Regions from separate parts of the Homo sapiens genome. Here all the other regions are linked to region 1. Evidence: promoter capture Hi-C in human tissues and cell types (Jung and others, 2019). All regions are on one chromosome and are shown on one strand. The core of a region is centred on a gene start or on the middle of the fragment in contact, and the rest is flanking DNA. Distances in the headings are between cores, read along the strand shown.

Region 1 (2,814 bases), core at 17-2,516:
CTTGAACCCGGGAGGCAGAGGTTGCAGTGAGCTGAGATTGTGCCATTGCACTCTAGCCTGGGTAAGAAGAGTGAAACTCCGTCTCAAAACAAACAAACAAAAAACAAACAAAAAACCAAGAATCTTCTTGTTAATTTCTTTTAAAAATAAGAAATTATCCCGGGATTTTGATAGGATTGTATTTAATTAAGAAAATTGACATCTTAACAATATTGAGTCTTCTAATCCATGGCCATGGCAAATTTTTTTATGTGTTTAGGTCTTTAATTTTTCTCAGCATTGTTTTGTGCTTTTCAGTGAGAGGCTTTGTACATTTGTGTTAAGATTATTCCTAAATTTAAAAATTATATTGTAAATAGCAGTTTTATAATTGTATTTTCCATTTATTTGTTGCTATTATATAGGAATAAAATTAATTTTCTTTACTGACCTTGTGCCCTGTGATGCCACTAAATTTACTTATTAGTTCTAGCAGACTTGCCCCAGTTTCCTTAGACTTTTCTGTTTACATAACCATGTTACCTGCCAAACAAGACGACCTTTTCCTTTCCAGTATTTATGCCTTGTATACCTTTGTCTTGCCTCATTACAGTGGCCTCATTGTGCCGCTGGTATAAGAGTGACACCGAATAAGAGTGGTGAGAGTGAGAAGTGCTCAGAGCCCCTTCCTTGTTTCTGATTTTAGGGGGAAAATCTTTACTCCATCAGCAGCATTTGATGTTAGCTTCAGATTTTTTATAGGTGTCCTTTCTCAGCTGAGGATGGTCCCTTCTGTTCCTGGTTTGCTGAGAGTTTGCATACACGTTTTGCCATGTGCTGTGTCTGCATCTAATTGAGATGGCCATATTTTTTTCTCCTTTCATTAATGTGGTGAATGACATTGATTTTCAGGTGTTAGCTAAGCTTACATTACTGGGTGAATCTCTCTTGGCTATGCTGTATTATCCTTTCAATACGTTGTTGAATTAGTTTGTTACTATTTTATTACAGAGTTTTGCATCCACATTCATGAAGGATATTGGGCTGTAATTTCCCTTTTCTAGGAATGCTGTTGTCTCACTTTGGCAGCAGCATTATGCTGGTCCTCCTCCTCTGTTTTCTGAAAGAGTATGTGTATGGTTTGTATTATTTCTTACTTATATCGTGTGTAGAGTTCATCCGTAAGCCACCTGCACCCACCATTTCCTTGTAGAAAGATTTTTAATTATAAATTCAGATTTTCTACTTCTTTGTATGTCAGTTTTGGTAGCTTGTGTTTGTGAAAAATTTGTCTGTTTCATCTACATTTTCTCTTGGCATTCAGTTCCTTATAGTGCTTTGTTACCCGCTTAATATCTGTAGGATCTGTAGGAATGTCCCTTTCATTTCTGATATCGGTAATTTATGCCCTCTTCCTCTCTTGGCTCTCTGTCTCTTTTCTGCTTAGTCTGCTTGGGAAATTGATCTTTTTTTTTTTTTAAGTTTTCCAGGCTAACTTTGTGTTTAATTCTTCATTATTTGTCTATTTTTCATTTCATAGATTTCTGTTATTTCCTTCCACTTTGCATTTAATATGCACTTCCTTTTTCTGGCTTCTGAAGGTGGATGTATGAATCACTCATTTTAAGCCTTCTCTCCTAATATGAACATTTATAAATTTCTTCCTCAGCTGAGCTTTAGCTGCATTCTACACATTTTTATAAGTGATGTTTTTATTGTAATCTTCTCTTTAGCACTGTTTAATCTGATGTTCATTTCATCTCAAAAATTTCATTTTCGATGTATTCTTCAGTTCCAGGAATTTTTGTTTATTATTTTGTGGAGTTTCCGATTTTTTCAGAGCCCTAATTGCTTTGTTGATTATGTCCAACCTTTCCTCTAAATCTTTGGATATATTGGCCGGGCACAATGTCTCATGCCAGTAATCCCAGCACTTTTGGGAGGCCAAGGCGGACAGATTACTTTAGGTGAGGAGTTTGAGACCAGCGTAGCCAACATGGTGAAACCTCATCTCTACAAAAATACAAAAATTAGCTGTGCTTGGTGGCGTTCGCCTGTAATCCCAGCTGCTCTGGAGGCTGAGGCAGGAGAATCACTTGGGAGACAGAGGTTGCAGTGAGCCGAGATTGTGCCACTGCACTCCAGCCCGGGCAATAGAGGACACTGTCTAAATAAATAAATAAATCGTTGAATATATTTATTTCATTCTTTTAAAGTCTTTGTTTGTTACTTTCATTATCTTTGTTATCTCTAGGCCTGTTTCTGTTGACTTATTTTTCCTGGTTATGAGTTACATTTTTCTGCTTCACCTGTCTAGTAATTTTTTTGTACACTAGGTATTGTGGTAGCAATGTTGTTGAAAGTCTCAGTTCTGTTTTCCTCCCTTAAAGAGTAGTGTGGTTTGTTCTGGAAGGCAGTTAATTTGCTCTTGGTTAGCTAGGATCCGTTTGAGGCTTGTTTTTAAGCTTTATTATGCCAGGTCCAGAGAACCCCCTCACTCTGGGCTATTGTAGCCCAGTCCCCATGGCACAGCCATTGTGGAATCTCTGTTAAATCTATTCGCCCAAGGTGTCTCCAGTCTGGGTGTGGGAACACGTCTGTCTCCTGCCCCGTGTGGCCTCCAGAACCTCTCTTCCTCACGCTTCCCAGAGCTGTTCTCTGCCAGGTCTTGCAGATGTTCTCTCTGACACCCTCAGCTATTTGTCCAGAAGCTTCCTTGGATCCCTGTTGATGTTTTTAGAGTCCCTTCTCTGTGCAGCTCTGTCCTGACTGCCTCCTCATCCTGCAAATTTCAACAGCTCAGCGGCTTGAGACTTCCATCCCTGCCACCTCAGC
Region 2 (3,181 bases), core at 230-2,729, 91 kb before region 1:
CAACAAAAAGGAAACAAAAGGTCCATCAACAAGTAAATGGATAAGTCAATGTATATTTAGAAATCAGAGAAAACAAATAAATTAAAACCATATGTATCCCTAGAGAAAATCTCTTTAGCCTAACACCTATTTTTTTCAAAAGCAATTTACAGAAAGAGAAATACAGTGTAATACCCATTACATAAAGTTTTCAGCATGTAAAATTTTTTTTTCTTTTTTCTTTTCTTTTTTTTTTTTTTTTTTTGAGATAGAGTCTCACTCTGTTGCCCAGGCTGGAGTGCAATGGCGTGATTTCAGCTCACTGCAACCACTGCCTCCCAGGTTCAAGCGATTCTCCTGCCTCAGCCTCCCGAATAGCTGGGATTACAGGCACATGCCACCATACCTGGTTAATTTTTGTATTTTTAGTAAAGACGAGGTTTCACCATGTTAGTGAGGCTGGTCTCAAACTCCTGGACTCAAATGATCCGCCCACCTCAGCCTCCCAAAGTGCTGAAATTACAGGTGTGAGCCACCGCGCCTGGCCACAAAACATTTTTAAAGGAACATACATATTAAGTAGGAGTGTGAGGACCTTCATGAGAGTGGTGAATTCCAAATTCAAGAAATTATTAGGGTGGGACAGAAACAATATGGAGAGATGGAGGAACAGAGACTTCATTTATTTATGCCATTTTTTCCCAAGTTGAGTAGGGTTTTTTTTTACATTTTTTAAATATATTACTCTTTATACCATCGTTCAACTAAAATAGATCACTTTTTTTTTTTTTTTGAGACAGAGTCCCGCTCTGTTGCCCACACTAGAGTGCAGTGGTGTGATCTCTGCTCACTGCAACCTTCACCTCTGGGTTCAAGCCATTCTCCTGCCTCAGCCTCCCAAGTAGCTGGAGTTACAAGCATGCACCACCATGCCTGGCTAATTTTTGTATTTTTAGTAGAGATGGGGTTTTGCCATGTTGGGCAGGCTGGTCTCCAACTCCTGACCTCAAATGATCCACCTGCCTCGGCCTCCCAAAGTGCTGGGATTACAGATGTGAGCCACCACACCCAGTTAATTTTTGTGTTTTTAGTAGACACGAGATTTCACCATTTTGGCCAGGCTGGTCTCCAACCCCTCACCTCAAGTGATCCACCTGCCTAGGCCTCCCAAAGTGCTGAGATTACAGGTGTGAGCCACCATGCCCAGCCTAAAATAGATGCTTTTGTAAATCCAGTGTGACTCTGGAGTCAACAGGGAGAGGCTAGACCCTTGGGGGCCTCCATTAAGTCTGGACACAGATTCAGCAAGAGAGCAGCAGCCCACTGAGCAGCCCATACACCAAGGGGCGGATTTCTAGAGGAAACAAGAAAAAGGGGCCCTAAAAATGGCACAAACAGGAACCAGGAAATGTGTGCCCAGCCTCACACATGACCCTGGGCAGGGATATAAAGGGTCCAGGCTCAGGGAGCTCCACACCTGCACCTCCCTCTCACCTGCTCCTCTACCTGCTCCACCCTCAATCCACCAGAACCATGGGCTGTTGCGGCTGCTCCGGAGGCTGTGGCTCCAGCTGTGGGGGCTGTGGCTCCGGCTGTGGGGGCTGTGGCTCCGGCTGTGGGGGCTGTGGCTCTGGCTGTGGAGGTTCTGGCTCCAGCTGCTGTGTGCCCGTCTGCTGCTGCAAGCCCGTGTGCTGCCGTGTGCCAACCTGTTCCTGCTCCAGCTGTGGCAAAGGGGGCTGTGGCTCTTCTGGGGGCTCCAAGGGGGGCTGTGGCTCCTGTGGAGGCTGCAAGGGGGGCTGTGGCTCTTGTGGGGGATCCAAGGGGGGTTGTGGCTCCTGTGGGGGCTCCAAGGGGGGCTGTGGCTCTTGTGGGGGATCCAAGGGTGGCTGTGGTTCCGGCTGTGGGGGATGTGGCTCCAGCTGCTGTGTGCCTGTCTGCTGCTGCAAGCCCATGTGCTGCTGTGTGCCAGCTTGTTCCTGCTCCAGCTGTGGCAAAGGGGGCTGTGGCTCCTGTGGGTGCTCCAAGGGGGCCTGTGGTTCTTGTGGGGGCTCCAAGGGGGGCTGTGGCTCCTGTGGAGGCTGCAAGGGGGGCTGCGGTTCTTGTGGGGGATCCAAGGGGGGTTGTGGCTCCGGCTGTGGGGGCTGTGGCTCCGGCTGCGGTGTGCCCGTGTGTTGCTGTTCCTGTTCCAGTTGTGGCTCTTGCGCGGGGTCTAAGGGAGGCTGCGGGTCATCCTGCTCCCAGTGCAGTTGCTGTAAGCCCTGCTGCTGTTCCTCAGGCTGTGGGTCATCCTGTTGCCAATCCAGCTGCTGCAAGCCCTGCTGCTCCCAGTCCAGTTGCTGTGTCCCCGTGTGCTGCCAGTGCAAGATCTGATTTCTGGCTTTGCAGGACTCTTACCATGGCCAGGCATTCCTGCCCAGCCTTTACCTCCTTTTCCTGGCACCCAGTGAGCCAGACTCTCCTTCCCCACCCACTACCCTATCTCCCACCCTCCTGCCTTGCCAAGCATGAACACTTCTCTTTGACCTTCTACCAAGAAATGCCATGGGCCCATGCATCCAAGAAGAATGACTTTCAAGGCCTCCCTTCCAGGCATCTGGAGACCAGCCCCCCACCGCCCCAGCCACCTGCAGCAAATGCCTATCCGCAAGCCCTGCCTGCTGGCACCACATCCAGCACGGACAGCCCTGCAGGACAGCCCAGGGTGCTTGCTCACTCTGCAGTCACTAGGAGTTCAGATCTCTGTCCTTTAAACATCCAATAAACCGCTCACCCCAGCACCCCATAGCTGTCTTGGTATATTTATGTTTATTTCCCTCTCGAGGCAGGTGGGGGGCATCTGTGGCTACACTGGGTCCCCTGGGAACCACACACACACACACACACACACACACACACACACACACCGGCCCTGAACCAAACCGGAGCAGGCAGGTGGGCGCCCTGGCCAGCAGGGATCCTGGATACATGGTGGCGGTCAGAGGCAGGAGCACCAGCAGCCACCTGGCTCAGCCCCTTGCCGTGCAGCCTCTACCACACCCTCTCAGCATCTGGCTCAGGGCGGGGGTGCCTTGCCTTGATCAGGCAAAAGCAATCACTAGGGGGTCATCATGGCCTGTTACCACGCGGTCTTATTCTCTTTGGGCTGATGTAACAGAACACCATGGACTGGCATGTACAACAGAAGTGTATTTCTCAGGGTTCT
Region 3 (2,912 bases), core at 383-2,882, 100 kb after region 1:
TGCACCCAAGGTGAGGCAGCTCCCCTGAACCCCTCAGTCTAAACCCCTTCCTGCAGCTCTGCCGTAGTTACATCACAGCCACGGCCCTCCCCCAAGAGCCTGGGCCTGGCCCACTTTCTTTCCCCAACGCCACCTCCCAGCTCCTCCTCTGTGCAGCCGTGAGGGGCTGAGCCTCCACCCTGCACCAGCGCTCTCCTCCTCCTTCCCTCCACCCCTGCCCGCCCGGGTCTAAGGAACTTCTCGGATTGGAAGGGAGAGGCAGTGCCGTGGGACCTCGGGGACACCAAGAGACAGGCCGGTCCTGAGAGAAGAAAGAAAATGGCTGAGCCCCAGCCTCCACAAAGGCGACTCTGTGAATGTGCCTGACCAGATGAAGGGCTAGCCAAACCCAGCGGGCCGGGGAGAGTTGGCCACATGCGAGGGTAGCTGGGTTGCCTCTGGCCTGGGTTCGGCCCCGCAGGGACCCGGCCTGTTCCCTAGAATGACAGCCAGGCCCCACCGGGAAGCCCCCTCCACCGGCAGGCCGCGGGGCTGCTCCACGGGTCAGGTCCCACGCACTTCTGGTCCCAGCACCAATGGCCTCTCCCTGCCCCGTGGGAATGCAGGTCACAGACGCTCCGCCCGCCCGAGCCCGAGCCGGAGCAGCGCAAGGCGCTGTCCAGCCCTCTGCAGGTCCCCGCACTCTCCCGCCCCCACCGCGGAGGGAGATCGGGCCTGCCCGGAGGCCCCGGTGGCCGGCGCGCGGAGGTGGGAGTCCCGCCGGGGGCGCAGCTGCTCGGGCAGCACGCCTATTAGCGCGGCCGCGGCAGACGGCAGATGGGCGCCCGCGCGGCCCCCTCCTCCCGCGGCACAATGGGCCCGGTCGCTGGGGCGCACAATGCGGCCCGGGCCGCGCACCTGCAGCGGGGCCCGAGGGGCGCCGTCCCGTGCGCCCCTGTCCGCCTGCGCGCCCCGCGCCGCGCCGCGTGTCCTTGGGCCGCGCCCGGCCGACCGCAGCCAAGCGGCCTGCGGGATCCGCGGCGGAACCGGGGCGCACGAGCGGACGGGGGCGCACGGGCCGCCCATTGTTCGCGGCCGGGGCCCGGGCCGGGCCTGCGGCTTCGCGGCCGGGGCCTCCCTCGGGCGCCCCCCACCCAGCGCGCTGCCAGCGCGGCCTCCCCGGCCCCGGTCCCCGCCCCGGCCGCACGCACCTGTCTGCCCCTTGCCCAGCGTCTTCTCCAGCCGGTAGGGCCCAACATACTGCGCGTGCTGCGCGCCGCCGTCCTTCCCCGTCGATGTCATCGCTCTGGGGCCCGGCGCCGGCCAGGGGCGCCCGGGCGCGCGGGCAGGGAGGGGCCGCCCAGCGTCCGCCCGCGTCCGCCGAGTGCCGTCCGCGCCGACCCGGCCGGGGCGCCCCCGCGGGCCCCGCTGCTTCGCGCCGCCCGCGTCCGCCCGCGCCGCCGCCCCCCGCGTCCACTCCGACGCGGCAGTCCGAGGCCTGGCCCGCGGCGACGCCTCCGCCTCGTCGAGAGGACAGGGCGGGCGGGGGCACCTGGCTTCCGCCGCCGCCGCCGCCGCCGCCGCCGAGGCCCGCGCCCCGCGCCCCGCGCCCCCAGCGCACGCCCGTCAGCGGCCGCGCAGCCGAGCCGAGCCGAGCCGAGCCGAGCCGTGCAGCTGAGCCGAACAGCCGAGCCCAGCAGCCGAGCCGAGCCGAACAGAGCCGAGACGAGCCGAGCCGCGCAGCTGAGCCGAACAGCCGAGCCCAGCAGCCGAGCCGAGCCGAACAGAGCCGAGCCGCGCAGCCGAGCCATGTAGCCAAGCCGAACAGCCGAGCCCTGTAGCCAAGCCGAACAGCCGAGCCGAACAGCGGAGTCGAGCGCAGCTGAGGGGAGCCGAGCCGGGCCGCGCAACGGAGCCGAGTCGACACGAGCCTGTACGAACGCAGCGGGATGCCGTGGCGGCGGCAAGCGGTGCCCGCGCCGGCCAATCAGCGCCTCCCCACCCCGCCCCGCCGCTACGAGCGCTCGGGGAGACTCTAGGGGGCGAGGCGAGGCCAGGGCGAGGCCGGGACCTGGGAGCCTCCAGCCCGCCGGCTGCCACGTCCGGTCCCACCAGGCAGCAGAGCTCCCGCTGCCGCCCGACCCGCCATTAAGGCGCATCCCGGGACGGAGCAGGCAGTGGGCCCATGGCGAGGGGGTGCAGATGGCTGCCCTGGACGGGGGTTTTACCCTGCAGGGCGTGACCCCGGGTGTCCCAAAGAGTTTCCCGCCCCTCGAGGGGGTGCTGCACGCGCGGGGGATGGGGATGCTGCCCTGGAGGGGGGCGAGTGTTGCATGCGGGGCGGGAGTGCTGTACTGGGGAGAGGTGCTGTATTCGGGGCAGGGGTGCTGCACACATGGGGGGTGCTGCACGCCAGCGAGGGGCATGCTGCGCTGGAGGGGGCGGGTGTTGCATGCAGGGCGCGGATGCGGCACACGTGGCGGGGGGGCTGCATGGGAGTCTGTGGGGCTACTGCACGCGGGCGTTGTCCAAGCAGAGATTGTGCACCCCCAGGGAGGACGTGGCCCTCCGCCTCCGCTCCCGAGGGAGAAGCGGCGGTTTTCCCAGTTATGCCACAGTGACCTGCGCGGCGCGGAGTCAAGGAACTCACCTGGGATCCGGCCGCAGCGCCCTGGCGCCTCCCGGCCCTTGCTACCGACCCCTCTTTCAGGTTGAGCAGCTGGGCAGGGGTTGCCGGGAGCAGCCTTTGGAGGTCTAAACACAGGCAGCCGAAGAGGCAGCCAGACCTGGACGGACCCTCTGTTTCTTTGCAGAAAAACACTGGTATTTCCTTAAGCCCGTGCTGCAGAAGGTGGTGGGAGGGGAGAGGTGAGGGAGACCCGGAACGCTGCAGAAGTGGGGGTCCCAGATCTTGCCCGTGTATGGTCTGCGGG

What was found. The method cuts DNA at HindIII sites, captures the fragments that hold promoters and counts their contacts. A contact is called where the count stands out against the background at its distance.
Region 2: a contact is called between the fragment with the promoter of KRTAP5-1 here and a fragment that was not itself captured in region 1, in 6 of the 25 tissues and cell types used here (adrenal gland, bladder, dorsolateral prefrontal cortex and 3 more).
Region 3: a contact is called between the fragment with the promoter of BRSK2 here and a fragment that was not itself captured in region 1, in 8 of the 25 tissues and cell types used here (H1 embryonic stem cells, dorsolateral prefrontal cortex, liver and 5 more).

The regions. Positions count from the first base shown.
Region 1 is chr11:1,492,602-1,495,415 of GRCh38, reverse strand. No RefSeq gene overlaps it. Among named protein-coding and RNA genes, the nearest start is that of MOB2, 7.2 kb to the right of the region's middle. The HindIII fragment of the contact is 6,425 bases long and covers 1-2,814 here.
Region 2 is chr11:1,583,581-1,586,761 of GRCh38, reverse strand. It overlaps KRTAP5-1 (keratin associated protein 5-1), which reads left to right and starts at 1,479. Exons shown (of 1, transcript NM_001005922.1): 1 at 1,479-2,420. The coding sequence starts at 1,513. The coding sequence ends at 2,349. All of the region lies in intron 1 of KRTAP5-AS1 (KRTAP5-1/KRTAP5-2 antisense RNA 1), which reads right to left. The HindIII fragment of the contact is 15,838 bases long and covers 1-3,181 here.
Region 3 is chr11:1,388,654-1,391,565 of GRCh38, reverse strand. BRSK2 (BR serine/threonine kinase 2) reads right to left here and starts at 1,632. Exons shown (of 20, transcript NM_001256627.2): 1 at 1,191-1,632. The coding sequence starts at 1,281. RefSeq lists a silencer at 1,866-2,235. The HindIII fragment of the contact is 11,739 bases long and covers 1-2,912 here.